6 separate regions of the Homo sapiens genome follow, and all the other regions are linked to region 3. Evidence: promoter capture Hi-C in 16 types of primary human blood cells and fetal thymus (Javierre and others, 2016). All regions are on one chromosome and are shown on one strand. Each heading gives the region's core, a stretch centred on a gene start or on the middle of the fragment in contact. The rest is flanking DNA. Distances are from core to core; before and after follow the strand shown.

The links. The method cuts DNA at HindIII sites, captures the fragments that hold promoters and counts their contacts. A CHiCAGO score of 5 or more calls a contact.
Region 1: a fragment that was not itself captured here is called in contact with the fragment with the promoter of TMEM132B in region 3 in 1 of 17 cell types (activated CD4 T cells); the score reaches 6.0 in activated CD4 T cells.
Region 2: a contact is called between a fragment that was not itself captured here and the fragment with the promoter of TMEM132B in region 3, in 1 of 17 cell types (M2 macrophages). The highest score is 5.6, in M2 macrophages.
Region 4: a fragment that was not itself captured here is called in contact with the fragment with the promoter of TMEM132B in region 3 in 2 of 17 cell types (non-activated CD4 T cells and naive CD8 T cells); the score reaches 5.3 in non-activated CD4 T cells.
Region 5: a fragment that was not itself captured here is called in contact with the fragment with the promoter of TMEM132B in region 3 in 1 of 17 cell types (M0 macrophages); the score reaches 7.4 in M0 macrophages.
Region 6: a contact is called between a fragment that was not itself captured here and the fragment with the promoter of TMEM132B in region 3, in 1 of 17 cell types (endothelial precursors). The highest score is 5.1, in endothelial precursors.

The regions. Positions count from the first base shown.
Region 1 is chr12:126,855,650-126,860,687 of GRCh38, reverse strand. No RefSeq gene overlaps it. Among named protein-coding and RNA genes, the nearest start is that of LINC02372, 17 kb to the left of the region's middle. The HindIII fragment of the contact is 293 bases long and covers 3,564-3,856 here.
Region 2 is chr12:126,758,128-126,762,676 of GRCh38, reverse strand. The region is part of intron 1 of LINC00944 (long intergenic non-protein coding RNA 944); the gene reads left to right. Among named protein-coding and RNA genes, the nearest start is that of LINC00944, 12 kb to the left of the region's middle. The HindIII fragment of the contact is 1,201 bases long and covers 1,858-3,058 here.
Region 3 is chr12:125,183,315-125,187,676 of GRCh38, reverse strand. TMEM132B (transmembrane protein 132B) reads right to left here and starts at 1,291. Exons shown (of 9, transcript NM_001366854.1): 1 at 811-1,291. The coding sequence starts at 877. RefSeq lists a silencer at 1,299-1,508 and an enhancer at 1,557-2,090. The HindIII fragment of the contact is 2,339 bases long and covers 1-2,317 here.
Region 4 is chr12:126,899,594-126,904,366 of GRCh38, reverse strand. No RefSeq gene overlaps it. Among named protein-coding and RNA genes, the nearest start is that of LINC02372, 27 kb to the right of the region's middle. RefSeq lists an enhancer at 791-1,990. The HindIII fragment of the contact is 196 bases long and covers 2,929-3,124 here.
Region 5 is chr12:126,735,720-126,740,697 of GRCh38, reverse strand. All of the region lies in intron 3 of LINC00944 (long intergenic non-protein coding RNA 944), which reads left to right. It overlaps LINC00943 (long intergenic non-protein coding RNA 943), which reads right to left and starts at 3,691. Exons shown (of 4, transcript NR_038256.1): 1 at 3,542-3,691. The HindIII fragment of the contact is 2,656 bases long and covers 1,189-3,844 here.
Region 6 is chr12:127,080,860-127,085,322 of GRCh38, reverse strand. The region is part of intron 1 of LOC107984449; the gene reads right to left. Among named protein-coding and RNA genes, the nearest start is that of LINC02405, 23 kb to the right of the region's middle. The HindIII fragment of the contact is 1,542 bases long and covers 629-2,170 here.

The sequences.
Region 1 (5,038 bases), core at 2,461-4,960, 1.7 Mb before region 3:
GATTAGCAACATTAATCCCATCTTCAACCTTAATACCTCTTTGCCATGTAATGTAACACATTCACAAGTTCTGGGTATTGAGATGTGTACATCTTTGGGGGGATTCTTATTTTGTTTACCACAGGAGATAACTAAAACTTTCTGTCAGTCATTTCATTTTGCTGCTTGGCAGTGGAGCACTGCTTATTTCATCCAGGGCCAGTCCTGTCCCTCAGTGACAAGCCCTGTGCATTGACCAGTCTCAGGCCCAAGGCAGGGGGGTCATGCAGCCATCCTCCTAGCTGCAGTGTTTGTGGAAGGATGAACACATAATCTAAGCAGAGGTTCCTGAGTTCTTCCTTGGGATTTTCCAATCTGGAGCTGACAGGAATGACCCGTTCTTCCTCCCTGATAGAATGTACTGCTACAGTATGAGTTCAGGGCTTCCTGTACTCAATTTTCCTTTGGCTTAGAAAGAACATCTCTGCAGTGCAGAAAATGGAATCAAATTATAGAAACAAAACAGAAGAAAGATCAGGAGAAAGAAGAAGAATGTTGTCTGGTGATGTTGACATCCCAGAGTCCAAGGGAGTCTGTTCTCTTGGCAGATCCATTTGTGCATAGCATGGCTTCATGACAAAATGAATTACCCAGTATTGCTTAAACTAGATTACGGTGAGCTTTCCTGCTTTTCAACCACAGTCCTGAGAAATCCAGACAGAACATCAAGGTTATTTGTTGGGGAACATCAGAGTTGCCAGGAAAAGCCAGAGAAATACTGTTCTGAGGCATGATGAAAAACACAAATCTCAATGGAGGATTTCATTGTCTTCTAAGACGAGGGAGGCAGGGATTAAATCCTTCTCACTCAAACTCTTGAGAAATAGTTTAGATACAAAAATCAAATGCTTATTTTCTATCTTGCTTTTGGAAATCAATGTCACAGGCAAAGCACTGGCATTAGAACTAGATCTTGGCTGGATGCAGTGGCTCTTGCCTGTAATCCCAGCATTTTGGGAGGCAGAGGCAGGTGGATCACTTGAGGCCAGGAGTTTGAGACCAGCCTGACCAACATGGCAAAACCCCAAAACCCCATCTCTACTAAAAATTTAAAAATTAGCCAGGTGTGGTGGTGCGCATCTGTGTTCCCAGCTACTCAGGAGGCTGAGGCATGGGAGTCTCTTGAAGCCAGGAGGCAGAGGTTGCAGTAAGCTGAGATTGTGCCACTGTACTCCAGCCTAAGCGACCGAGCAAGACTCTGTCTCAAAAAACCAAACCAAAACAAAAAAACACCTAGGTCTAGCAGGGGACAAAGGCAATGCAAGCCCATGAGCTCAGAAATAAGTCTCTGCTCCACTGGAAAAGAGATTTACTGAGGCAGAGAAATGTAAATGCTTACAGTGTCAGAACTGGGACACAGGAGGTGGGTTTGAGTGCCAACCACTCCCATCATCACTGTATAATGTAAACTGTGCATCTAGACTCTTAGTGCACTCATTTCCACACCTGCAAAATGATGATAACGTCAAAAAATAATTTACAAAATTATTGGGGAGCAAAGACAGTTAATTCACGCAAAATATTGCTTAGAGCAACTATCTTAGAGTTGGCACATTTTGGGCACTCTGTAATGCATTGGTTTTTAATCATTGCTATTATTATCTACACAATCCCAATTTTTACTAGATTGATTCCCAAGCATGACTCTACTCTCTTCTACCCTTGTTATTATTATTGCTATTTTTAATTTGACTAGCTACCCAATCAGGAAGATGAGGAGAGCAGCCATCAGCCACAAGCCAGGTGTTCTGAGAATCCAACGTCCACATCAGAAGCTAAAGACTTTATTTGACATAAGCTCCTTAGTCTCTCATTCATTCTCTCTTTACACAACAGGATAGACAGGCACATGCCTTCATTTGAGCTTCTATTCTGCCTTGGAAATCAGATACTCAGCCCCAGGCTGTCATCGTTTTCATTTCTCTCATTACGCCCACATGCTGGGGAATCCATTGACTTAAAACATACCATTTCTTGAGCCAATAACTATTTCTAATGCCAAGGAGGGAAAAAAGCACTAATCACTTTTTTCTTTATGGTGTTTAGGGAAATTTTATTTTTATTTTTATTTTTTCTCCTCTAGTGTGTTTACAGTATACCTGTCTTTAATAGTCTTTCTGAAATAATAGTTATGGAAATACTATTATAAAAAAGTGAACTGCTGTTGCTGAAAAGAATTTTATGACAAAGTTACAAGGCAAGAAGTTGCATATGCACGTCCTAAATGGCCTTCAAAGCAACAAGCAAACGCTGCTCTATAGGCAGCTGTGCTGTGTTGAAGTTTAACATATAGTGACATGGTTTGGCTCTGTGTCCACACGCCTATCTCACATCAAATTGTAATCCTCAGTGTTGGAGGAGGGTCCTGGTAGGAGGTGATTGAATCATGGAGGTGATTTCTAATCATGTAGCACCATTCCTCTAGTGCTGTCCGTGATACAATTCTCACAAAATCTGGTTGTAAAAAAGTGTGTGGTGGCCTGGCGCGGTGGCTCACGCCTGTAATCCCAGCACTTTGGGAGGCCGAGGTGGGCGGATCACGAGGTCAGGAGATCGAGACCATCCTGGCTAACACGGTGAAACCCCCTTTCTACTAAAAAATACAAAAAATTAGCCGGGCGTGGTGGCGGGCGCCTGTAGTCCCAGCTGCTCGGGAGGCTGAGGCAGGAGAATGGCGTGAACCCGGGAGGCGGAGCTTGCAGTGAGCCGAGATCGTGCCATTGCACTCCAGCCTCCGCGGACAGAGTGAGACTCTGCCTCAAAAAAAAAAAAAAAAAAAAAAAAAAAAAAAAAAAAAAAAAAAAAAAAAAAAAAGGGGTGTACGGCACCTTCCCCTTCTGCCTCTCTTTCTTTTCTATGGGTCATGCGAAAACATGCCTGCTTCCGCTTTGCATTTCCACCGTGACTGTAAGTTTCCTGAGGCCTCCCCAGAAGCAGAGGCCTGTGCAGTCCACAAAATTGTGAGCTAATTAAACTCCTTTTCTTTATAAATTACCCAGTCTCAGGTACGTCTTGATAACAGCGTGAGAACCAACTAATATATGTAGCCAAGGGAGGTTATGTACCATTCTAGCCTTCCTGTCAAAGCAGCATTAGAAACCATTCATAGGCAGGATTCTGGCCCCTCTTCTCGTGGCAGGTGAATTTTGCTTTATATAAGAGAAGAGTACAAGTTGGCATGTGTTGTGTGTCTGTTACTTGCAGCATCTCATTACTACTTGCCTCTATGCAAGTCTTGAAGTGTGGATTATCTACTCCAGGTACCTACTCTAGTGTCCTACATTCAATCCTTGTTACTTGAACCAACAAGTGGGGTGGCGGTGGGGTGGTGGGGGTCTTTCAGGTGTCCTGCTCTGCATCCAATCTTTCTCAGAAGCACTAGATGGAGACCAGCAAGAAGGAGATGGTCAGTATAAACAAACTTCCCTTATGTCTGTGGTGCTTAGGGATTCTTCCCTATCATGCAATTCCACACTTGACCACCAAGGACCATTAAGATACCTGGCATTTTCTACTAACAAGCTTCTCTGTCACCTTTCCCTCCATGCTCTCACTGACTGTGGAATATGGAAGGATGGCATCCCATTGTCTCATACAACAGGAAGTCCAGAGATTGGTGGCGTCCAAATGGTTCAGCAGCTCAGTGATGTCACTTACTGTCTTTGCATTCTGCCACATTAAGAATTTTTGCTTTGTGATGTTGAACTTATTGCCCTTGGCTACAAGATACTGATCTAAGCAGATGGTTAAGGGACTCCTTGCTACCAAGGCATATGTTATCCAGAAATAAAATATTGCCCAGAAGCCCCCGCAAGCTTTCCCTTGCATCTCGTTTGCTAGAACTGGGTGAACTGCCAGTCTCTTAACCAATTAGAAAGATATAATCATGACCAGTTTAAATTTGAGGATTGGACAAAAGAGGGAGGCTTGACCAGTTTAAATTTGAGGATTGGACAAAGGATGGAGGCTTACTTCCTTGAGGGCAAGAGTTTACTGCCTACAAAATACAAAATCAGGATTCGATGAGCCAGAGTGAAAAGGGGTGAGAGAATATAAAAGCAGGTCTATGTATAGCCTATCAAGGTAAAGAAACATCACAGATACATGACAGACTCCTGCATGCCACTTCTTAACCTCATTACTTTCCTTCTCTCTTCAGCAGCAAATGGTTATTGACTAAAGTGAAAAACATCGTAGAATTTACCAAAAATTTAGGGCAGTATTTAAGTTAGATGTAGTACTGAGGTTTTTTTTCCAGGGTTTCAGAATCACCAAAGCTGTTGTTGGTCCATTTGTTGATTATGAAGATCTTTCAAGTAGGGTTTATTTTTTTAAAAGAATGTTTCCTCAACGTGACCACTTCCCTGAATGTAGCAATATTATTCCCCTTTTTAGGACTTTTCAGAATGGGATGAATTTGTGAATCTAATACTGTTGATTTTATTATCTGCTGCTTTACTTTTCCCCAGCTGTTTTTTCTCTCTGTGCTTCATTTGAAATACTTCTTGTTGCTATGTCCTCAAGTTTACTAATCCTTGATTTTGTAATAGCTATTCTGCTGTTAATCCCATCCCATGTCATTTTCTTCTTAGTCATTGTAATATTCTTCTCTAAAGGTTTGTTTTGTGTCTTTTAAAAATTCCTTTCATGTGTCTACTGAATCATTATCTTCTCAAACATATGAGCCCTATTAATGATAACTGTTTTAGTACCTTTGCCTGATCATTCCATCATTGGTGTCATTCTTTCTGCCAGACTGTGTAAAAGTCACATTATGTTGTGGGATTTTCTTATTGCATTATTGCATAAATATTCATGCACTTTGCTATGAGACAGTTTGGCCTTTTTAATACTTGCTTTTAAGCTTTGTTAGTAAGGACCCAGGCTTACTTTAGCTTAGTGTTAATTTGGCCCCACTACGAATGCACTATCCTTCTTAATACTCAACCTGATGCTCCATGTACTAGTCAGTTTCTCCATTTTCATTGGTGGAAACACA
Region 2 (4,549 bases), core at 1,209-3,708, 1.6 Mb before region 3:
GCACAAGCTCTCTCTTTGCCTGCTGCCATCCATGGAAGATATGACTTGCTCCTCCTTGCCTTCTGCCATGATTGTGAGGCCTCCCCAGCCACATTGAAATGTAAGTCCATTAAACCCTTTTTCCTGTATAAATTACTCAGTCTCGGGTATGTCTTTATCAGCAGCATGAAAATGGACTAGCACAGTATCCCAAGTGGACAATATTTTCCAATGTTCAAGTTGTTAATTACAGAGCAGTTACATGGAACTCTAATCTTGGAACAGGTTCTATGTGATTATGAGGCAATCAGCACCAAACAGCTATGAGGAAGCAGTTCAGAGAGCAGGAAGCAGTTCAGAGAGCAGGCTTCCCTCATGGTGAATGCTAAGCGTGCTGCAAGCTGGGTTCAGTTCCTTTTCCCCAGCTTCCTTCTTCCCTGGTTCATTTTCTAAAGTTTACAGGGACAGTTTCACAGGTGAACGGTCAGCATTCAAATTCCCGCTTTGCTACTTATAGACTGTGTGACCCTGGGGCAATCATTTAATCCTTTTGAGCCTCAATGTTCTCACCAGTAAGATCAAGAAAAAGTAGTAACTATCTGGTAAACTCTCAAAGAAGATTGGATAAAAGAATGGCAATATGAATGAAAAAATAAATGAAACAATAAATGTTGTATTCTGGCTTGTTCCTGATATAGAAAATAAGAAATAAAATTAAGAGATTAAGTAACTTAGACACTAAGTATTAATTAGGTTAATTGACAGCAATAATGCATGGGGCTCAGAAGCAGCTACTTAGGAGGTGAAGATTTTGTTTAGAAATCCAGCTCCACCTTTTATTGATTTGGTGACCTTGAGAGAGTTACTTTAACTCCCTAATGATCAGTTTCCAAATCTAACATATGGGGAAATTTTAAATGGTTAAAGTAGAACTTAAAGTTTCCAGATTCAGTACTTTGGGGATAAATTATGTAGAAAATTGAACAAATGAGCTGGACAGATGTGGCCACTGTGTGTTCTCTTCTATCACTTTCTGTTTTACTTATATATGTCTCATTGTCTACTCAGAAAGTGAGTCACTGGTACCATATCCCTATCATGTATATCTCAGGGGTTTAGTGAAGAACCAAATATTCAGTGCTATAACGATTCTGACATTTCTATATACAAGTAACAGAAATTGCTAAAATAATGGCTCACACAGTCAAGGCACCTACGTATCTCCTAGTGGAGAAAACTGTGAGTAGGTGATTCTAGATTGATGCATTGGTTTAGCAATGAAACCAAAAACAGGGGCCCTTTGTACAATCCATGTCTGCCATCCTCCAATGTTGATTTTTCATTCTCCTGCTTAGCAAATCATGTTCACAAGATGGCTGCACAGCTTTCGCCATCACAGCCTTTTCATGGCAGAAAGAAGAGGGAAGGTTCCTATCATATTTTTCCTTTTGTTAAGGAGGCAAGAGTTTTCCCAGAAATCTCAAATGACTGTCTAAGACCTCATCGGCCAGCACTGGGTCACATGGCCACCTCTTGTTAGAAGGAAGTTTGGTAAAGTGAGTGCCTGGCTTTGCAGGTATTTTAGTGGGAGGGGACAAAGGAGAAGGTGGTGAAAATGGCTGTTGTGTTAATTGAAACAGTGTCGGCCACAGCCGCAGAATAAACATGTGGAGAAGGTCATTGATCACCTTGACTGAAGCACTGCAGACAAGATAAAGACAGCCTGATGCAGAGGAAGATTGAGGACTAAGGGGCTTCATCCACAGGTGAGCTCACATCTGAAAGCCGTGCTTACATGAATGTGAAAATATCTCATCCATGGAGTTGCCCACCTCTTGCATTTAAGAATCAAACTTCACCCTTTCTGTCTCCAAAGCTTCATGTTTATATGGTAAAAAGAAAAAAAAATCAGTGTAACTCAGATGCCTCCCAAGTTTCATCCCACTCTTCTCCAAAGATAGTGTTCTTCCTTGAGTAGTCTTCTCTTTTGTCTACTGTGCAACAAGATGTATAACCATCACCTTCCCCACCAGATAACATGCTAGGATGCTTTCTGTTAGGATATGAAGAAGAGTGATACTGACATGCTAGTGATAATACTCTTGGAGCTGGGAAACTTGCAGAGTAACCAGGCGTCTACTGACCCACCACATTTTTACCTTATGACCAAAGACAAGGCCCTGTCATAATAGACTGTCATCATAGGAGGTAGCATGCATCCATTCATCCAACAGATATTTACACAGTGGGTCCTAAGTGCAGATATTGAAATGATCAGGGTTATAAGACACTAACAATGCCAACGGAGTGGGTTGATATAGAAATTTATTCTAAGTGCTTTATGTGCCTTTTCTTCTTGTTCTGAATGAAAAACATGTGAGGTATTTTCTGTTATGACGTCACTGTAGAAGTAAAGAAACGGAAGCTAAATGGCTGAGTAACACAGCTGTCAATAGTTAATAGTTAGTAAGGGGCAGAGCTGGAATTTTCACCCAGCCTCCAGAACCCCATGACTTTAGCCACTATATGTACTGCCTGTATGGTGAGAAATAAAATAGACATGATCTCTGTTTCCATGGCTAGGAGAGAAAGAAGGACATGAAACCAATTCACACATAAATATGATTTTAAATTGTCATAAGGGCTGCAGAAAAATATAAACAAGCTACCAAGACAGCAAACACAAAGCAAAGTCATTATTTATACTGAGAGTTAAAGAAGCCCTCTCTTCCCCTCTCTCACCCCAAAAATGTGACATTTAAGCTAAAACCTAATAAACAGAGCACATTATCTTGTTGAATAATTTGGGGAGGGGAAGTGAGACTGGTGGGGAGGAGCAAAGTCCCTGGGCAATGGGAATGGCCTCAGCCTGAGATAGAAATGGGTTTGGCAAAGGAGGAGAGAAACAAACAACGGTGTAACTGTGCTATTGCTGCAACAATGCTGGGTAACAGACAACCCTAGTCTCAAGTATAGGTCTGTTCCAGGTGTTTCTTCATTTTTCATGCAAGCAGTTACTGGGTACAGCATGTTCTTTACATGGAGAATGGCAACAGCATAAGAGGAACAGACAGAAGCTTTTCAGTAACCCTTAAGAATTTTTCTTGCAATCAGTCACTTCTGCTCACATTTCATTGACCAAAATACAAGGCCCAGCCAAGCTTCCGTGGGAGGAATTGCAAACTCACTTCACACAGGGTATAGATTCTAATGTAGAGAAGAATAAAAATTTAGGAGCAATAATCCCATCTACCTGTGGCCCAAGGTGTTCTGAAAAGATGGCTATTTTTGTGGCTTTGGGATATGTTCTTTGGGCCAGGAGGAAGAAGGAAGGAGTTAATCAATGAAAGAATTAATCTGGAGAAGTATGGGAAAGGCCTCATGCTATGTCTAGGGGTTGGGTTTTATGCTATCAGCCCTGGAAAAGTACTTATGAAGCCTTCCTGAACAGCTTCCTTAAAGAGAATGTTTGTTTGTTTGTTTTGTTTTGTGTTGTTTTGTTTTGCTGTGCTCTGGAAAGCCAAATCTTGAGCCATGATCATCCCAGCCCGGCTAAGCATTCCAGGAAACACGGCTGATTGTCCATCCCTATAATCATTTAGTGGAAATATATTTCTAAGGATGTTAGAATGGTATTTTAAAGAGCATCATTCACTTGAATTCAAAATCTTTCTAGATCTCTAGAATTCAAGTAATTTTTCTTGCTGTCAAAAAAATTTTTCTCAAACTTTTTATCTTAAGACAGACATAAATGTAACATTCTTATGGATACCAGATCTTATCAGATAAATGTCCTTGTTTTAACATTGTTTATAAACATCTAAAATGTTTAGGCCTAATTGTAATGAGACTGTAAAGAAAGATACATAGTAATTCTTATGTTTCACCACACCCCTTTATCAAAATTTTCAAAATGTCTCATGAAATCATAAGCTAAGTCAAATTTTATTTGATCTCATGTAAACATTCAACATATTAAAAATATCTGTTATCAGCTGCCCTCTTTGCTGGGTAATTTAGAAGATGAAAATTTTCTGACTACTTGGAGCTTAGAGTCTGCTTAGGGTAGTCAGATTGGCATTGAGAAAATTAATACACATATTAATATTTAATAATATTAAAATTAATAGTTTAATTAAAAGACATGTTATGATGGAGATGATTCCTCTTTTCAGTCAATCAATCAACTCTAGAAAGAGATTTCTGCAGCATTCTCCTTTTCTTGTGCCATCTGAAATTTTTGCAACTTCGCTAAGTCGTGAATGGCAGCCGATTTAGGCAAAAGGGAGCTACGACCACCAGTGGGTATCTTGGAATTCCAGTCCCCAGTTTGGATAATTGATTTCTACATAAGTTTCAAAGGAGAGCCTAGCAAAGAAGAGCAGAAGGAGACAAAATGTCCCCAAGGGCTTGGGAACAGCTGTGCCATAAGGTGCTAATGTTTGCATTTTTCAGCATGAGGTTTCCATGTCAGAGAAGGCATGGACATCCAACCCTTGCAGGCTCATTTATCCCTCTAAGTCACGTTTTTATCCAGACCTCTCCAGCAGCTCCCCTCCACCCCCTGCCC
Region 3 (4,362 bases), core at 42-2,541:
ACAATACCTGACTATTTTGCTTTTCCCACTCACTAGGATTGGGCGACAGCTGAGCTGGTTCAGCAGGGAGTCCAGCTCCCCGGTGCCCAGGCAATGGCTCTGGACAGCACCGCGTTCCAGGCTCCCCGGCGCGTCCTGGACTGCTTGGCCGCGGCTACCCTCTCCCGCCCGCCTTGGGGTCAGGGCGCTGGAGTAGACCGCGTTTGCAGGAGGCGCGCAGCGGGCTGCTCTTTGGCCAAGAGGAGGCCATTTGGCGAGGGTGGGTAGCTTGGGGAGGGCAGTGTGAAAGCAGGGGAGGGCCGCGGGGCGTGGGGAGGGGCTGCGGACAAGCCAGACAGCGCCGGCCGAGACATCTCCGGGGCCCGCAGGTGTCCCGGGAACGCACCACTGTGCGACCGCGGGCAGCAAGACACTGGAGAAGGGCTGCGTCGACGCCCCCGCCCAGCAAAACCCCTGGAGGAACTGGGACCTGGGGGGGATTTGGCCCAAGGCAGGGCGGGGAGGGGGCTCGATTCCTGCAGTCGCGTCCCCACCCGCCTCGAGAGGCTGAGTGCCCCGGTCTGTGGCCCCCGTGCGTCCCGAAAGGATCCGCAAGGAAGCTAAGGGTTTGGGGGAGAAGGCAGGCGGGCTCTCCCCAGGCGCTAGGCAAAGGGGAACGCGCCGGGGGCTCCTGGGTTCCCAGGGTCTCCCCAGGTCTGTCCAAGTCCGGGAGATGCGCGCTGCCAGGGACTTGAGAAGGAGGTAGCCGCCCGTTCACCCAACTTTGTGCGCCTCGGCCGGGGTCGGGGATGGGGTCCGGGGACGCGTTACCTGGGCACTGGAGCGCAGTCAGCGCCAGCAGGAGCCCGAGCGGCGGCGCCCGGCCCGGGGGCGGCATGGTCCTCGGCGCGCGGTGGGTGCGGCGCGGGGCTGCTCCTCTCGCGCGCCCGGCCCGGCCCGCGGCTCCCGGAGCAGCCCCCGGCGGCTACGCCCGGGCGCCGGGCATGGCTCGCTCCCAGCGCGCCGCTCCTCCCCAGACGCATGCGCCGGCGCTGGCGGCGCTTCCTCGGCTGCGCCTCTGCGCGCTCTCCTGGGCTCGGCCGTGCGTGGCTGGGGAGCTGGGGCGGCCGAGGCTCAGCGCCCCGCGCCCTGGCCGGCTGCCCCGCAGTTGGCCCGAGTTGCGCGGCCCCCGCCGCCGCCGCCGCCGCGGCTCCTGCGCCCCAGCGCCCGTCCCATCCCGGTCGCGCCGCCGCCGCCGCCGCCGCCTCTGCCATCGCCATCTGCCGGCCGCCCCTCGAGCCAGCGAGAGAGTGAGCGAGCGAGCGAGCGCCGGGGGGAGGAGGAGGAGGAGGAGGAGTAGGAGGAGGAGGAGGAGGAGAGGAGCGGAGGGCGGGGCCGCGGCCGGGGGAGGGGCCGCCCGGGAGCCGGGGCACAGGCGGCAGCCCGGCCAGTAGGCGGCGGGACGCGCCACTGCTCGGCGGTTCGGGGGAGGGCGCCCGGCCGGGAGGCTCCGGGAGCCCGCCGGGGGTCGCGGGCGCTCGCGGGTACAGGGGCTGCGGGAGGGGTGCGCAATGCAGAGAGGGGATGCCCAGCTAGATCCGGCGTCTTGGGGCGCAGCGGTAGGAGTTGCCAAGGTCGAGGGGTGAGGAGGCCAGCGGAGGGTCACCGGGATGGGGCAGCGACCTCTGGAGAGGTGGTGTCTGCCGGGGCCAGAGACTGCAAGACTGAGCGCGGACAGGAGGTCCCGGGTTAAATGTGGCACAGCTAGGGAGTGCCTGTGGGAGAGGGGAGAGGAGAGAGGGGAGGGCCTCCGGGAGGCCGAGGCTGTGTGCAGAGCCTCTGCACGGCACCGGGATGGGGGCTAGGGGTGCGCAGGCTGGGTGCGGTGACCTGAAACACAGCGAAGGCGGCCTGGGGATGGCCACCCGGGTGAGGCAGGGTCCCTTATTTACCCAGGCTAGAGGATGCGCCTTCCCATTTCGCGCAGGCCCTAGGAGCACGCGGAGGCAGCCAGGAGTTCTCCTGGGAAGGGCAGATTCCCTGGCGGTCCCGGGAATGAGTTCCCAGCGCAGGGTCAGGCAGTGACGGAGCGGAGGTGTTGCGCAGGGCCGGGTACTAGGTGGTCGAATTCTTCCATCCAGGGGCAGGGACGCAGCCAGAGTGCGGAGGGAGGTCACAGGTCACACGGAGCCCCAGTACCTATTATCCCAGAAACCACTGATCCTCCTGGGCGCCCCACCCCCAACCAGGGCAAAGCCACGGGGGGCTAAGCCGAATGAATGAGTCATGCTGGGAGCATGTGGGGGAGCCTCCAGCAGCGCTCAGATGCCTTCAAGCTTCCCCACCACGCTGGGAGGACAGGGGATATGGGGGGTTGCCCACCTGGGAGGGTGGCTTGGAGTCCTGGCTCCGCCCCAGCCCCCACCACACCAGCCACTTGCTCTGCCATCTCAGTTTTCCATGAAAAAGTGGGTCAAACTCTTTGAAAATGGTCAATAAGGCAGCGTGGGGTGATGAAAAGACAGATTTGGGGAAGGCTCTGGAGTCATGGAGTCTTGGCTGAGAATCCCAGCTCTGCCGCTCCTTAGCTGTGCAAGCTGGGGCGAGTCCCTTATTCCTCCCTGAGCCTCAGTTTTCTCATCTGAGAGATGGAAGGCATTGCACATCACCTGGTGTCCCCAATAACACATACAAAGCCCCTGACCTAGGAAGTCGGAACTCATTTAAAGGAGTCAGTGTCAACATTATCATTCTCATCATCATGGCCATTATTATGATAGATCTGATTTTCCTCTGCGGGCCCAGAGCTCACATCAGAAGGACAATCCTCCCCACTCCCGGCTGCCAAGAGGGGATGGGGGACAGGGCACCTGCTTGATTAGTACAGACAAGCTCATTAGCAGAGGCAGCACTCAGTTCTTCCTAGATAAAAGAAGGAAGAAAGCCAGGGGCAGGTGGTGAGTCTCCAGCCCAGGTTAATTAGGAGACGTAAAGGGATTTTCCCGTGGCTGTTAATCGGCTTCCTTTACAAGGGGCCCATGCCCAGGCCAAGCCCCCTTTGGGCTCCCTGGCAAGGCCTGCAATGTGTGGAGAGCCATACAACAGGCTGGACGACGGGATTGGGGGTCTCCTCGGGCTTAGGGTGGCCTTGCGAGGGGCCCATCTGTCCCCTTTCTGTGACCCTTTCCCCAGATAAGAGGATGATCCTGGAGACGTGGTCAGGACTCTCTTAGGGTCCTCTGTGCCCGGCTGCCCCCAACACCTCTTTCCTGTTCACTTGTTCATAAGCATCTGCAGAGCTGAGCACCTACTGTGTGCCGGCCTCTGCAGGGGATGGTGAAGCAGAAATGAATGGACGACAGCAGGGGAGAGCCACAGCAGGAGTGACCGCGGGGTGCTGGTGCCAAGGTGAACCGTGTGTTTGACCAGGAAGCAGGTCAGTGAGGCTGGGAGACTGTGGCCAAAGATAAAAGTCATTTTCTGGCAGGGTAAGGGGTCATTCTGTGGCTTTAGTGGCGGTGCTTGGAGAGGGTTGTGAATCAGTCCAGCAAGTCCCCAAGCCAGTGGTCACACAGTCCCAGGTGTGATGGCAGATGGCAGTTGCCTTCCCCCCAACCCCACACTCAGGACTACCTGGTCATACTCCAAGAAAGCACCTTTCAGTGGGGAAGGGCACTTCCCCATTAAAATATGCTGATGGTGGTTGAGCCAGACGCTGAAGAGAGGAATCTCCTTTTGAGGGTAGCTTTTCCATGCCCCAGCTGTGTGACTCTGGACAAGCCCCTAATCCTCTCTGAGCTCATACGTGGGGTAGGGATGAGAATTCCAGCCTGGCTCAGCCTGTCTTGTGGTTGGATGAGGATTTCTGCATATTAACCATGCCCCTAAGCCTGTATCTCTAAAGGGGGTGTTTCTGGAGGAAATAAGCAGGGGAAAAAAGCCTCCCTGGATTCTGAAGGGCGGGGGGGAATCTGAGAGGCTGGCGGCAGTAACGAGGAGACCCCAGGGCTGAGCGGAATTCTCCTCTCACTCCTACCTAGACTCTCGCCCCCAGCCTGCTGGCCTCATAGCCTGGGCAGGACCGTAAGAATTACACAGCCTACAATCTCCCCCTAAGTATAGATGGGATACTGAGTCCAGGAATTGTCCTTCTCCTGGATCTGTAAGTGTGGGGAGGCCGACTCGACTAACAGCCAGCCTCGAGCCCCAGCATAGCCATGCAAGGCTTCCTCAGGCCGCACCACCCCCTGCACAGCAAGAGACTGCCTCCAGCACGGATTGCTCCCGGTCCGTCCCCGCACCCCAGTTCTGCTGCAGCTCAGCCCACGCGCCCGCCGGGCTACCGGCGAAGAGCAACATTGCCATCTCGTGGCTGAAACTGGA
Region 4 (4,773 bases), core at 1,777-4,276, 1.7 Mb before region 3:
TTCTATCTCCTCCATCTGATGTGGTCAGTGACTCAGATGTATGAAGATATTGAGCAGGAGTCACCAGTTCAGTAGGGGATACTCAGTAAATCAGAAATAAGATCCAGAGAAGGGGTGAGCAGAACTAACCCATGACCTCAAGTTCATTTGTAGGATAGATTTTAGGAGACATAACTGCAAGGATAAAAAGCACCACACCAAGAAGGGTTAATCCAGTCATCAGTTCTTGACACCAAAGGTCATTCCTGATGTTTCTGAAGCTCACCAGGGCCCAGAGGGCATGCATTTGGAAGGGTGGCACAACAGGTCTAATGTCTTCTCAGAGCATACCTCAAAATGAAAAGATTGATTTTGGTCACTGAAGGTCTCATTTACAGAAATAGATTTCCAATAAGGAGGTATTGGTAACTTTATTCAGAGCTGTGCGGAGAGATGCTATCCAGAATTTGAAGTCGCTAAACAGCTTTCTAAAACCAGGACTATTAATGTACTATTTGGAAGCTTTGGAAGAAACTTTTCAGCCTGGTTGAGTTAAATACCAAAGTTGAAATTCAGAAAGGTGCTATTAAATTATAAACTTAATGCAGGTAAAGAGTAGAACAGTTTCCCCTTCACTGTACTGCAGATTGTAAAATACCACCTAATTTTCTATATCATTTTGTACCACTCCAAAAACCTAGAAGAGTGAACAGGGCTGCGAACTCTCTCCATGAGACTCTGAGCATCCACGTGGGGAGTGCATTTGTCAAAGACATTTGAACCTGAGCAACTCCATCTTAAACAGGAACTGGGTAAAATGAGGCTGAGACCTACTAGGCTGCATTCCCAGGAGGCTAAGCCATTCTAAGTCACAGGATGAGATAGGAGGTCGTCACAAGATACAGGTCACAAACTTTGCTGATGAAACAGGTTGCAGTAAAGAGGCCAGCGGAAACCCACCAAAACCAAGATGGCGATGAGCATGACCTCCGGTTGTCCTCACTGCTACACTCCCACCAGCGCCATGATAGTTTACAAATGCCATGGCAACGTCAGGATGTTACCCTATATGGTCTAAAAAGGGGAGGCATGAATAATCCAACTCTTGTTTAACATATCATCAAGAAATACCATAAAAATGGGCATTTAGCAGCCCTCAGGGCTCCTCTGTCTGCAGAGTGGCCATTCTTTTTTTCCTTTTCTTTCCTGATAAAATTGCTTTCACTTTTCTCTATGGACTCTCCCTGAATTCTTTCCTGTGCGAGATCCAGGAACCCTCTCTGGGGGTCTGGATCAGGACCCCTTTCCTGTAACACACTGACCCTCCCCAGTGTCAGGATCTGTGCCAGTGCCCTGAAGGTGGAGTTCTCAGAGGCTGCCCCTTCTGGTTCCTACCTTCTGAGAATTGCTAGGCCAACTCCTGCAGGTAGGTGGAATTCCTCTCCTTTGCGATTACATCAGCGTCTCTTAACTCTTGTCATCAGAGAAGTAGAGAGTAATCATCTTGAAATTAAAGCTGTGAGTTCTCAGTAAATTATAAAAGGTGACTCAGTAAAGGAAAATAAAGCTTTAGGGGAAGGGCAAAGCAGATGGAGTGAAACAAAGTGTGATTAGGAATTTCAAATACAGAATATGAAATTAAAATAGTAGCTGGTTCATAATATACACGAGTGAATTAAATACAGATCACTGAACATATTTCCCCTCTGAGGACATTTCTCTCTTCTTCCTCTTTGTTCATAAAGGAAATGCTAACATGTATATGAAGGAAGGAAAAAAGAAAGGGAAAGAGAAAGAGGGAGGAAGGGAGGAAAGGAGGGAGGGAGAAAGAAAGAAAGATTTTCCCTATATAATTTTCAATTTTGTCAATAAAAAGCATATACTTCTTTAACCGTTTAATATGAATCTTGCTAATTGTAGCAAATTGTTATTTCTTATAAAGGATGCATCATGCAAAACATTGTCTCACCCAAGCTTGTCAGCTTCTTCACAAGATTACAAAGTTGAGAGCAGCTGAGGCAAAACCGCTCTGGTATGTGATCTGTGGAATCCTTCTCATTCACAACAGGATTTTCCTATGAGGGGTCAAACACTTTCAGTTGGCTTTCAAGAAACCACAAATCTAAATTAAACAAGTAGGCAACACATGACAGAGGGCCATCATTTTATGGCAGGATCCTCCAATTAGCTGTAATGGCTACAAATCAAGAAAAGGTTAAATATTTCTGAATAATTTTAGATTTTGGGAAAAGGGAAGCAAAGAACATAAAGATTGTGTTTTATGATCTCATAAATCTCTCTTGGATTAAAAAACAAAAAATCCCTGATACTTTGGGAGGTAGGGTATACTGGAAAGTATTTCTTAGCTTTAACAGGGAATAAGCTATTAAAATTTTTGAAAAGCCAAAAAAAAAAAAAAAAAAAAAAGGATGCATCATTTCCTGTGATACGAGTGACAGGTAACAGGATAAAAACAGTAATAAAGAGAAAAATGTGATGAGAATCAAGATGTGCAGTAGTTATTTTAATTTTAAAAGTCAAATAATTCTCTCACTCGTAGGGTTAACTAAATGTTGAAAGCATTCTCTTATTCCTCTGCTGGGTTGATGGTGTATAGAAAATGCAAACATTACTTATTTTTTACAGAATCATTAATCATGGTGCAGGGTTAACATATGAAGACCTAGGGATTAGGTCTAATTATTACTTGGCATAAAATCCATTCAAGAAATATGTTTTCGTAAGAAAAAATGTACATTATGAAAATATGTTGACCTTTTGCCTCTGCTCCATAGGACTTCAGGGAGCAAAGTTATGTAGATGTCCTGGTTAAAATGGATTTTTTTTTGAGGGTCAAAACATTGAGGGTACAAGGAATCATTCATCCTAGGAGGTTAAGGCAGAAAAAAGAATGTTAGCAGGTTTTTCCCCTTCATTTCCATAAAAGCTTGATTTACAAACAAACTATACCTACTAGGGAAAAAACAAAGAAAGAAAAGGAGTTGATTTTGTCTTCTTGAACCCTTGGCGCTGAATTTTTGTCTGTTTTACTGGCAGTTAGACGACACTAATAGCTGAGAAAGCATCATAATGGAAGAATCAAGAAATTGATAGTAATCATATGGGATGAAATAAATTAAAAGCTTACATTTTGTAGCCCATTACACTGTGGTCTACATAACATTAAATTATTCAAATGAAATTGTAAAAAAGATCGGTTAATCAGCATTTAGTAAAGATGTCAAATTGTACCCCCCCACTCCTTCCCAAACACCACTAAAATGCAAATATTGATTCTGTTTGTAAGTCATAAACCCAAGAGACAAAGGGAAAAGGAGAGGATGTAATAAAAAAAAACAAACAAGAAACGGAAGTTGGCAAACAGTGGGGGGTCCCAGCAAGTTAAATCCTATACCAGTGGGGAGGGAAGGGGAGTCAAACAGCAATCACATTTATTCCACAGAGTTTGCCCCCCTCCCCAGTTCCAGGCACCTGGATACTGTGGAGGAAAAGGTAAATATTAAATTTGAACTCAATTGAAAGTGGACACAAACAATGGTCACCAAGTCCCGGAACAGGTTGTGTGAGCACCTTGAGGCGTTCATCTAGCGCTGTTTCAGAGAAATCTCTATTTTGATGTATTCCTATACGTCAGTTATTGAAAAACGATAGACAATTGCAAAAACGAGTTGACCTTTTTGTGTTCCTTGAGCCAAGTCGCAAGGGGCCCTCGTGACTGGGCCTCATGCCAAACAACTCGTTACAAAAAGAGCTCGGGTCCCAGACTGTGCCGAAGCTTCCTGAGACCTCTCCTCGGCCGTGCACGGACGAGTGGCCGACTCTGGAACCCAGGCTGCTCCTTCCCGGTCTGGGGGTGAATCCTCCATAGGCTGGTGAGTGTAAATACATGCATCTTTTCCCTTCTCCCCTTCCCATTGTAATTTGCGTATTGTATCATTTGCTTATTATATGATTTGCTTACTGTATCTGTATTGCCATATACTTGGGATAAAGGCTGTTTACCCTTAAAGGTATTGTGTGTGTGTGTCTTTTCTTCTCCCCTGCGCGTTTCCCGCACAGAACAGATACCCGCCCTCACTGATGTTGGATTCTTCTCCGCAGACAGCAAAGAGAAAGTCTCCGGCCTGGCTGGAAATGAGCGTCCATACTGAGCACATGCAAGGGTGCACTGAACACTGGGATGCACAGTCTCTTCCTCAGCCGTGCTCCAGGGTGATGACGGCAGATCAAGACCCTCCTCACAGGAGACCGGATGCTCCTTCTCTGAAGAATTTGACCAAGGCAAGAAGAAATGCCTAAAGCAGCCGGCATGAAGGCTTCAGGAATGAAACAACCCAGCAGATCACCCTACAGGGATCAGCCCCGGCAACCAGCCGCAGGCTCCACTGCTTAGTTCCCACTTTCTGACATGGACAAGCAAAAAAGACCACCACACACGAGGACACCCTTCAACGTAAATGACACCAAACAAAAAATAAAACAAGCAAACACACGTTGGCAGTCCAAGGCAGGAGGACAGCTTTGAGCTCAGTAGTGTGAGATCAACCTGGGCAACATAGCAAGACCTCATTGCTACTAAAAATAATAACAATAGAATAATCAGCTGGGCATAGTGGCATGCACCTGTAGTCCCAGCTACTTGGGAGGCTGAGGAGGGAGGATCGCTTGAGCTCAGGAGGTCAAGATGGCAGTGAGCTATGATCCTGCCACGGCACTCCAGCCTGGGCAACAGAGTGAGACCCTGTCTCCAAAACAAAACAAAACAAAACAAAA
Region 5 (4,978 bases), core at 1,267-3,766, 1.6 Mb before region 3:
GGTATATGGATGTTCACTGAGCAATCCTAGTAGCTCTGTCACTACCTGAATAGGAGGCAGCTGATGCCCTGAGAAGCTGAGACACCTGAGCTGGAGCCCCAGGCCTGCATGAGCCCACTGTAGGTACTGAGAGAAACCACGTAAGTCCTCTGAGGTTCAGTTTGTTTTCTCTGTGCTAAGTGGGATTTTATAGTCTATCCACCCACCAAAAACACACCATGAGACAACTTAAATGTGCCCTTAACCTTTGACTTCATTTTGATGGGACCATCCACAGAGTCCATTTGCTTTGGACTTCTCACTAATTGAGACTGATCTTCCTCTTCTTTGGCCATTATGTATATCAGTAAGGATTCTTTTAAAAGAATTCTATAAAACATGCAGTCACTAGGAGTAGACTGGCTTCAGGCTCAGATGGATTCAGGTGCAACCAATGGCACCAACATGCTTTTTCATTCATTTCTCAGTCCTGCTTTCCATGGTGTGGCTTTTTGCTTAAGCTCCACAAGGTGACAAGAACACCATCTCCTAAATGTTGTTCAGTCCATCAAGAACTGGTTAGGGTTCCTTTTCCACAAGTCACAGTAGAAGAAGGAATAAGCCATGCAGCATGTCATTGTCTCTAGTGGGTCATGTGTCGTCACTAACCCTATCACTGTGGCCTAGGGGGAGACTATATTGAGTAGCCCAGCCTATGCCAGGAGGCCCCCTACCGAGGCCTAAAAAAGGGTCAGTTTTTCTGAAGTACAAAGCTGGAAGGTAGGGGACAGGTGGTGTTTTTCCATAGCATTCTTAGATACTGTTAGGACAGGAAGGGCAAAGGAATGCTAAGCAGAAAAAAATTAACAATTGTTCATTCCCAAACCCAAACAAAATAGTGAAATAATAACATAATCTGACTTATTCAACTCAGTAATCTTGTTAAAAAAGAGAAACCAAGAGTGCCCTCAGAGTGTACCAGATATTTAAGCAATTATTCTGGAGAAAAAAGTTACTGTTGGAATTGACTCTTTTTTTTTTAGCATTGTAAGATTAGACTGTCTGAACCCAGTGCCATGAATGATCTAATAGAAATACTTTATGACACTGGGTCCTCAGTAATAAGCTCAGTAGCAATGAAAAAATCAGACATAAGTTAACCCCCGACCAATGTGATCTTGGCAGTTTTACCAATTTCCTCCAAAAGCTTAGGCTAGAGATCCAAAATAGATCCCATGCTAGATGACATTTTTCTTCTAATCTAACACAATTTTTAACATCTAATTAGTTGTCAATCTTTAAAAAATCCAGCTCTCTAGCTTTTCTTTGAAAATATAAAAAGATCTGGAAAGTGGGACATACATTTTTCCTGGCACTAGTCAGATGGCCCTCAGTGGCTGCTGAGCCCTTTACATGGGGCCTCTGTCCTAAGGTTCGCTGCAGTCCCCACCATTCCCTGCTGCCCATGCCCAGACTGCTTGCCTCATTTGTGTCCCCTGCCTGGCCTTCCTGTCACCCCTTCAGGGAACTGTGTGAGAACAAGGCCGACATTGGGGAAAGCAGCACTGGAGATGGAGACAGAATCCCCATGATACATTTGAATACCAGGACCCAGGGTGAGTTTATAGCCCCGATCTAGGCATTGACTCCTCATCAATATGGTAATTTAATTTGTTTGTTAAAAAGGTAAAATACAAGTCATCCAGGATAACTTGGGGAAGCCAGTTTCTTGTATGGACTGATTTACAAAAACTAGAGAGATAGAACAATCATGTTGCTTTTTTCTTGTGGAAAGACCTCTGCTATGGACTGAACTGTGTCCCCCAAAATTCGTATGTTGAAGCCCTAACATCCAATCTGGCTGAGTTTGGAGTAATGAAGTAATTAAGGTTAAAGTAGGTGGTAGTCTGATAGGATCCTTATAAGGAGAGATAGCAGAACGCTCGCTATTTCTCTCTGCCACGTGAAGACACTGTGAGAAGGTGGTTGTCTGCAAGCTGGGAAGAAAGCCCTGGAACTAATCAGCAGGCACTTTGCTCTTGGGCTTCCAGTCTCCAGAATAGTGAGAAAATAAAATTTAAGCCACCCAGCCTATGGTATTTTATGGCAGTACCAGAAGATTAACGCAACTACCTTAAGGAAATTAAGACTGTTTAAAAATGGCCATAACACTTGTTGATGTATTAATGGGTGCTTCTTAAGAGTTGAAACAGTGTCAGCTCAGGAGCTTAACTGTCACTCCTGCCGTCTTTTTCATGGTATTATATTACTGTTATATTATGTTTAACTTATGTTACAGAAAAAAACAGATGTAAGTATCATTTCTATCAGAGCTAATTATGTAAAGGCCGCTGTTACACGTATGACACAGCCAACACATATCCACAGTGGAAGACACAGTATTATCCCTGGAAACAAATAATATAGTTGGGAAGAGAAGACATATGCTCACAATAAATACTGATGCATAAATGAAAATGCATTATGCACTGCTAAAATTGCTTTATACAGTTTTAACTATTGTCAGAGTTTAGAAAAAGAAGAGATAAATGAGTTTGAAATAATCACAAATAGGTAATTAAATTAATCTTAACTATTAATTGCTAACTATACATCAAGCATGAGTTAAGTACTTTGCATCTACTGAGTCATATGAGGTTAAGAAGTTTGCCCACTGGCACAAAACTAACAAGGGGTGAGTTAGGATTTGAACTCAGGCTCCAGAGGCTGTGCTCAGATGAACTATTTCCTTCCTGATCCTTCAACCAGCTGCAGGCTGTTTGCAAGTTTCCCTTTGAACTGATGGCTGGTAAAAGTCACAGGCTCTGTCATGTCCTTCTCTTGTGTCCCCTAGTAGACAGTCCTGTTAAGTACCCAAAGCAGGCCTCATCATTGTTTTAATTAGTAAAGTTTCAGGAAATGTCTGTGGAATAAAACCTATAAAGAGGAACTCAAGAAAAAAAATAGAAGATTTATTATCCCACAAGCCTTAGAAATCTCCAACCCAAAGTCTCAATAAGAACAGTTTACACAAGAGCCTTGGAGGAAACTGGGAGAATCGCTTGAACCCAGGAGGTTGCGGTGAGCCGAAATCGCGCCATTGCACTCCAGCCTGGGAAACAAGAGTGAAACACCATCTCGAAAAACAAACAAACAACAAAAAAACTATATCCCTTATTCCCCAAACCTAATCAAGCACTACTTCCTCTGTGCCAGGTCTTAACTACTTGTTGAGGATGTGGAAATGTAGATGGCATGATTTCTGGTCAGCTCATGTGGTGGAGAAGACAGACCCACAAATCAAATGCTGTGTGTAATGCATTGCAGTGTCTACATGTGTACTTTGCATATGGAAAGTCAGCCTGGGAGGGAAGAACGTCAATCTTTTCTCTGGAAAAGCACATGTCTGAGCTGGTTTTGAAGGATAAGAAATGACTGGGAGGTGTGTGAGTGTCTGTTGGAGGTGGATAGATAAACTCCACGCACAAGAGTATGAGGGCAAAAAGATTAGTATCAAGCAAAAGCAAATTACTTTTCATGGAGAACAGAGTTACAACAGTACCCGTATCTGGTATCTGTGGTTCTTCCTGTCCAGCATCCACACTTCTCTCTGAAAAACATCCTGATTGTCCCTTAGGCCTCACCCCTTTCTTATTTTCAGTCTCTGTGGTCTGGGTGGGATGAACCCCACCCCAATCCTAGTTCCAAGACTGGTCATAATGCTGGCAGTCATGACCTCACAACATTCTATGCACCTGGAGCCTGGATACAGTGATGCCATCAGGTGTGGTATGTGATCACAGGCAACTCAGGAACAGCTCTCCAGCCCCAGGACTTCTGCTGGAACCGCTGGGAGTTGGAAGCTTTCTTCCCACTGAGGGGCAAACCTTCTAGGTATCTGAAGATGTTGAAGACCATTTCCTGGAACAGCAGAGGTAAATGCCCAGAGGATGAGAACACATAGCCATTAGGAGAGCCTGAAAGTTCAGTGTGACTGAAAGATGAAGTTCAAGAGAAGGGACAAACTGCAAAACACAAGCTGGAGAGTTTTAGGTAAGAGTCATATCACAAAAAGCCATTAAGCATTTTAAAATGCTTAGCCTTTATCCAAAGACTAATGGAAAGGCACTGACATGACCTAATCATGAATGAGAAGATTTGATTAAATATATCTCTCTACAATGATGGAGAATGGACCAAAAGCAGGCGGGGACAAGGACAGTAAACTCTGCTAGGGACTGCTAGAATGACCCTGAAAGAATAGCCCTGAAGATAGAAAGAAGTAGATAGTTGCCAAAGATACCTGTGGAATACAAAAGTACCAGTGCCCACCAGATCAAACTACACATGGATCTGAATCTCAGAAAAGGGCTCCGAGCTAGGGAAAGAGATTTAGAAGCCTTCAGCAGAGAGATGATGTTTTAAGCCTTAGGAGTGAATGAAATTACCCAGAGAACATGCATGATGAGAAGAGAACCTGGAACAGCAGGGGCCAAGATTTAGGATCTGTCAGACAACGAGGAGCCCAAGACTGAGACCTGTTAATCCAAAATGCACCATTTTGTAAGCTCCCTGCCAATATGCAGACCTTGGTCAAAGTGAAACATTCCACGAGGGTTCGGGCCATGAGAACCTGCCTGCCCAACCGCCTGACTTTAACACATTCTGCTGAGAAAAAGTCCAAGGAACATCATTATTACATTCTGTGGGAACAAGGCCCCAACTGCCTCATTGTGGGAACGTCTTCTCAACATCTTCCCTGGCAGCACGCCATACTGCCCAGACCCCTCCCTGCCATACCTACAAGTATCCCAGCCTGTAAGCAGTGGTGGGCACTGGCATTAAGCTGGTCCTCCACCTCGGCAGGTTTACCTGGACATAAATACCTGCATTTGCTGTTGAGCCGCCCTCTCGCTCTATGTGTGTCTTTAACCCTCACCTTCCCTTGGAAACCTAACAAGAAGCAGGAGCCAGGAAGGTAGGAGGAAGACAGAAGCCC
Region 6 (4,463 bases), core at 150-2,649, 1.9 Mb before region 3:
CTGCAAAAAGTTCTCCACAGATGATGCCAATGCTTAGCCAGAGTTAGGGATCACTGTCTGTGCTAAAAGGGACTGAATTTTCCCAGAAGAGGATGTTATTTTCCCTCATTGATAGACTTTGCTACTTCTGACCTTGCAACTTACCACAAGGTTTTCCTGCTGGTGGTCAGGTCAGCTCTCTGCTTCGGATAAATTATACTTCCCTGGAAATAGATGCTAGAACAATCACTTCAAGTATGCTACTCATCATGTGAAAAATGGTGGAGCTCCACTGTAAGAATGAACCAATGGAGGCAAGGTATTTATATCAAAAAGAAGCAATTAATTGCTCAGGGTAATCCCAGCAATCAAAACTAGGTTCCAATAAAGCTGCAGACAATTGAGGATGCCTGTGAAAATCATTTTATTCCATCTCTTCCATCTCAAGTGGTTTCCTATCTTGATTGACATCCTGGGAGTGTTTAATACATGCAGATGTGCTCTTTTACCTAAAATACCAGGATGTATTTCATTGTTTGCCTAGCTAATGCTGTTGTAAAAAAAAAAAAATAGAAAAAAAAACCCACTTCGAGTGGCATAATACAAACCTAACAGCTAAATCCAGAGGAATTTTATAAAATGCCAAGCTTGAAAAGATTTAATTATATTGTTATGACTAATTGCATAGTGCAATACTGTGAGTATAGTACTTATTGTTTTTGGGAGTTGTTTTCCTTCCTTTCTAAATATACTATTTTAAGAGCAGTTATAGGTTTATAGAAAAGTTGAGTAGAATGTAAAGAAAGTTTGCACAGACTCCCTCACCCCTCCCAGGTCCCCCTATTATAAACGTCTTGCATTGATGTGGTACATTTGTTAACAGTGGGTGAGCCAATAATCATACATTATTATTCATTAAAGTCCATCATTACAGTAGGGTTCCCTCTTGGTGTTGTACATTCTACAGGTTTTGACAACTACATAATGTCATGTATCCACCACTATAGCACGATACAGAATAGTTTCACTGCCCTAAAAATTCCCTGTGTTCCATTTGTTTATCGCTCCCCACCCCCCAACCCTGGGAACCACTAGTCATTTTGCCTTGTTTTGTCTTTTGAAGAATGCCATATAGTTGGAATCAGACAGTATACAGCCTTTCAGATTGACTCATTTTACTTAGCAACATGCATCTAAGTTTCCTCTATATGTTTTTTGTGGCCTGAAAACTCATTCTTATTGCTAAACAATATTCAATTGTGTGGATGCGACACAGTTTGTTTCTATGGAATGGCATAGGTCTTTGAACTTAGTATGGAATAATGCAGACCATATTCTTTCCCAAAATAGAATTAAAAAATGATTTTTGGTGTCATTTATACTCTCGCTTTATCCTCTCATCTGTGAGCTGTCCCTTACGCCCAAATAAGTTCAGATTAATTTTAATTAAACTCTTTGGAGGTTTCTAGCTCCATAATTGAACACAAAGAAGACAAAATAATGCAGAGATGCATTCAAATAGGGGAATTTTTATTTGTGGAGATTTAGAAAATTACAGTTCTCAGAAAACATAAGTTTTGTGGTGATGGGTCAGTTTACAGTAGATCAACCCTCCCATTTAGAACAACTACATTAATTAACTGGTAAAGCACCAAAGGAAATAACGTTTGTTTAAAGCATTGCAAAGCTATCTTGTTTCCTCAGGTTTTGAGAAACATTGTCCCTAGGAGAGAAAGGAAGCACTTCAAGGTGAGCCCAGCGTTTGATTCTGCCTTATCATTGCGATATTTGCTGACTCATAAGCAGTGAAGAGTAGAAACCCGAGATGCTAAATAGAAAGTGAAACTAAAATGCAGCAAATGCCAGGCAGAGCTTTTACTGATCTTACAGTTCTGGGAAGGCTGAATGTACAGTTAAGGGTAGCCAACCTATCAGTTAGGAAGGAAAAGTGAACCTGGAAATCTCTAAACTCCTTTGATGCTCAAGATACTTCCTTATATATAATAAATAAATAAATAAAATATTAAATTTATATAAATAAATAAAGACCAAGAGGCAAAAGAATCAAGTAGGAAGCAGCAGTTAGGAGGCTGAGGAGTCAGCAGAGCCTCTGCAATCCCTAAATGTGGAAGGAAAAACAGTTGGGTTCAGAACTCAGCAAGAAACATAGCCCCGGTAAATGACTCAAGCTTTATACTAAAAGATTGCATCCTATAAGCAAGAAAAAATAATCCCTCAAGACTTACAAAAACTGAACACAAGCCTCAAGTCTTCTTAATCAGATAATAGAAAAACAAATGCAGCCTGCATACATACACACTAACTGCTTCCCAGAAGCTAAGCTCATGCAAAGCCGTTTCAAAAAAAAAGTCTTATTAAAGATTTGTTTTAAAAACTATCAGGTTTACCAAAGGAAATTACCAAACACAAGAAAAATAAAATATTATTTAAAAACCCTCATAAACATATTCAGTAACATAGATGATGAGATGAAAAATTTTAACAGAAAAGAGCACTCTATACAATTATTCAAATGAAATTCTATTACTAAAATATACAAGATTTTAATTAATAAACAAATATGTGGGCTTAACAGCGTATTTGGCAAAACTAAGATGATGATTAATGATTGGGAATACAGGCCAGTAGAAAATGGTCAGATGGAAATATAAACAGAGAGGAATCAAACATAAAAACATAGTTTAAATGGACATTAAACATATAAAAACATTTTTGGAATGGAGAAATAGCCTGACAAATGTGTGTAATCAGTGTCAAAATTAGAAAAGAGAATAGAGAAGAATATTAGAGGAGATTCTGAGAGTCTCCCGAAACTAATTAAATAAATTTTGCTTCAATTTTAATAAATCCTACAATGGCAAGGAAAATAAATACAAATAACTTGGCAGCTAGGCTAATCAGAATAAAAATGTGGAAAGAAAAAAACAGAAGAAAGAAAAATAAACATTATATTAAAAAACGAGAGTGTCTTACGACACTCTTCCACAAATATACCCAGGCTTAGAAAGCTTCCAGATAGTAGAAAAAAAAAAATACATCAATGTCACATCAACTCTTCCACAGTAAAAGAGGAAAAACGTACACAGTTTCTCTATTGTCCAGCATAACCTTGGTCCCAACACATGGCAAAAACACTATAAAAAGAGTTCAGGGCCAGGTGCAGTGGCTCACACCTGTAATCCCTGCACTTTGGGAGGCCGAGGCGGGCAAATCACCTGCGCTCAGGAGTTCGAGACCAGCCTGGCCAACATGGTAAAACCCCGTCTCTACTAAAGGCACAAATAAAAAATTGGTCAGCCATGGTGGCACATACCTGTAATCCCAGCTCCTCGGGAGGGGAGGCTGAGGAATGAGAACCGCTTGAGCCTGGGAGAGGGAGGTCACAGTAAACTGAGATTGCGCCATTGCACTTTAGCCTGGGCAACAGAATAGGTTGGCTTTATTATGGAAATGGTAGGTTAGTTTACGTTTAAAAAGCCTGTCAATATAATCACTACAGTAACAGAATTAAGCAAACAAATAGAACATGATTCTTTCACTGAAGGAGAAAAACATTTAATAAAATTTAACCCAGTATGATCAGTTACTCAGAGCTATCTGGGAACAGAAGGAAATTTCCTTAAATGTATAAAAAACTTGTTCAAAACATATGAAACAGAACCTTACTCAATTGAGGAAATATTGACATTGTTCTGCCTATTATGAGGAATGAGAGAAGGATGCCTGATATCACGACTTTACTCAGTATTTTCCCAGAGTTATAAGAACTAACAGATACAACAATTGGAAAGAAAGAGATAACTCTGCCACTGTTTGCAGATTGCAGGAGAGACTAATCCAAAATGTCAATAACGTTTGATAAAAATACAGTGAGAGGGTGGTGCCAATGTGCATCCCACCGGAGTTGCTAAAACGAAGAGATTAAAAATGCCAAGTGTTGGTGGTGACATAGAGCCACTGGAACTCTCATAGATGGCTGGGGTGTTTTGGAAAGCTCTCTGTCAGCATCCACTATGGCCAAAAATGAGCATGCACCATGACTCAGAAAGTCAACTCTTTAGTGGAATTTGACTCCACTTTACAAAAATGCTTACACATGTGAATCAAAAGACAGGTACCATTCATAAGTGAATGCTTTGACTACATGCACAAAACCATGTACAAAAGACATGAACAAAAGACATGCACAAAAACATTCATAGTGAATATTGTGATTATATGTACAAAACCATTCCTTTGCAACATTCACTAGAGCCCCAAACAAGAAACAACCCAATGTCCAATAATGATAGGGAGCATTCCTAATATGAGGTGTGGTTCTATCACGAGAATTATTGAACTACTGTCACCTGCAATAATTAGAAGAATTTTGAAAAGTTAACCTTGAACAAAAGAGGCCTGGTAACAATGAGTGCACACTGTGTGTTACTGTTTGCATAAAGGTAATGGCAAGCCAAGTCACT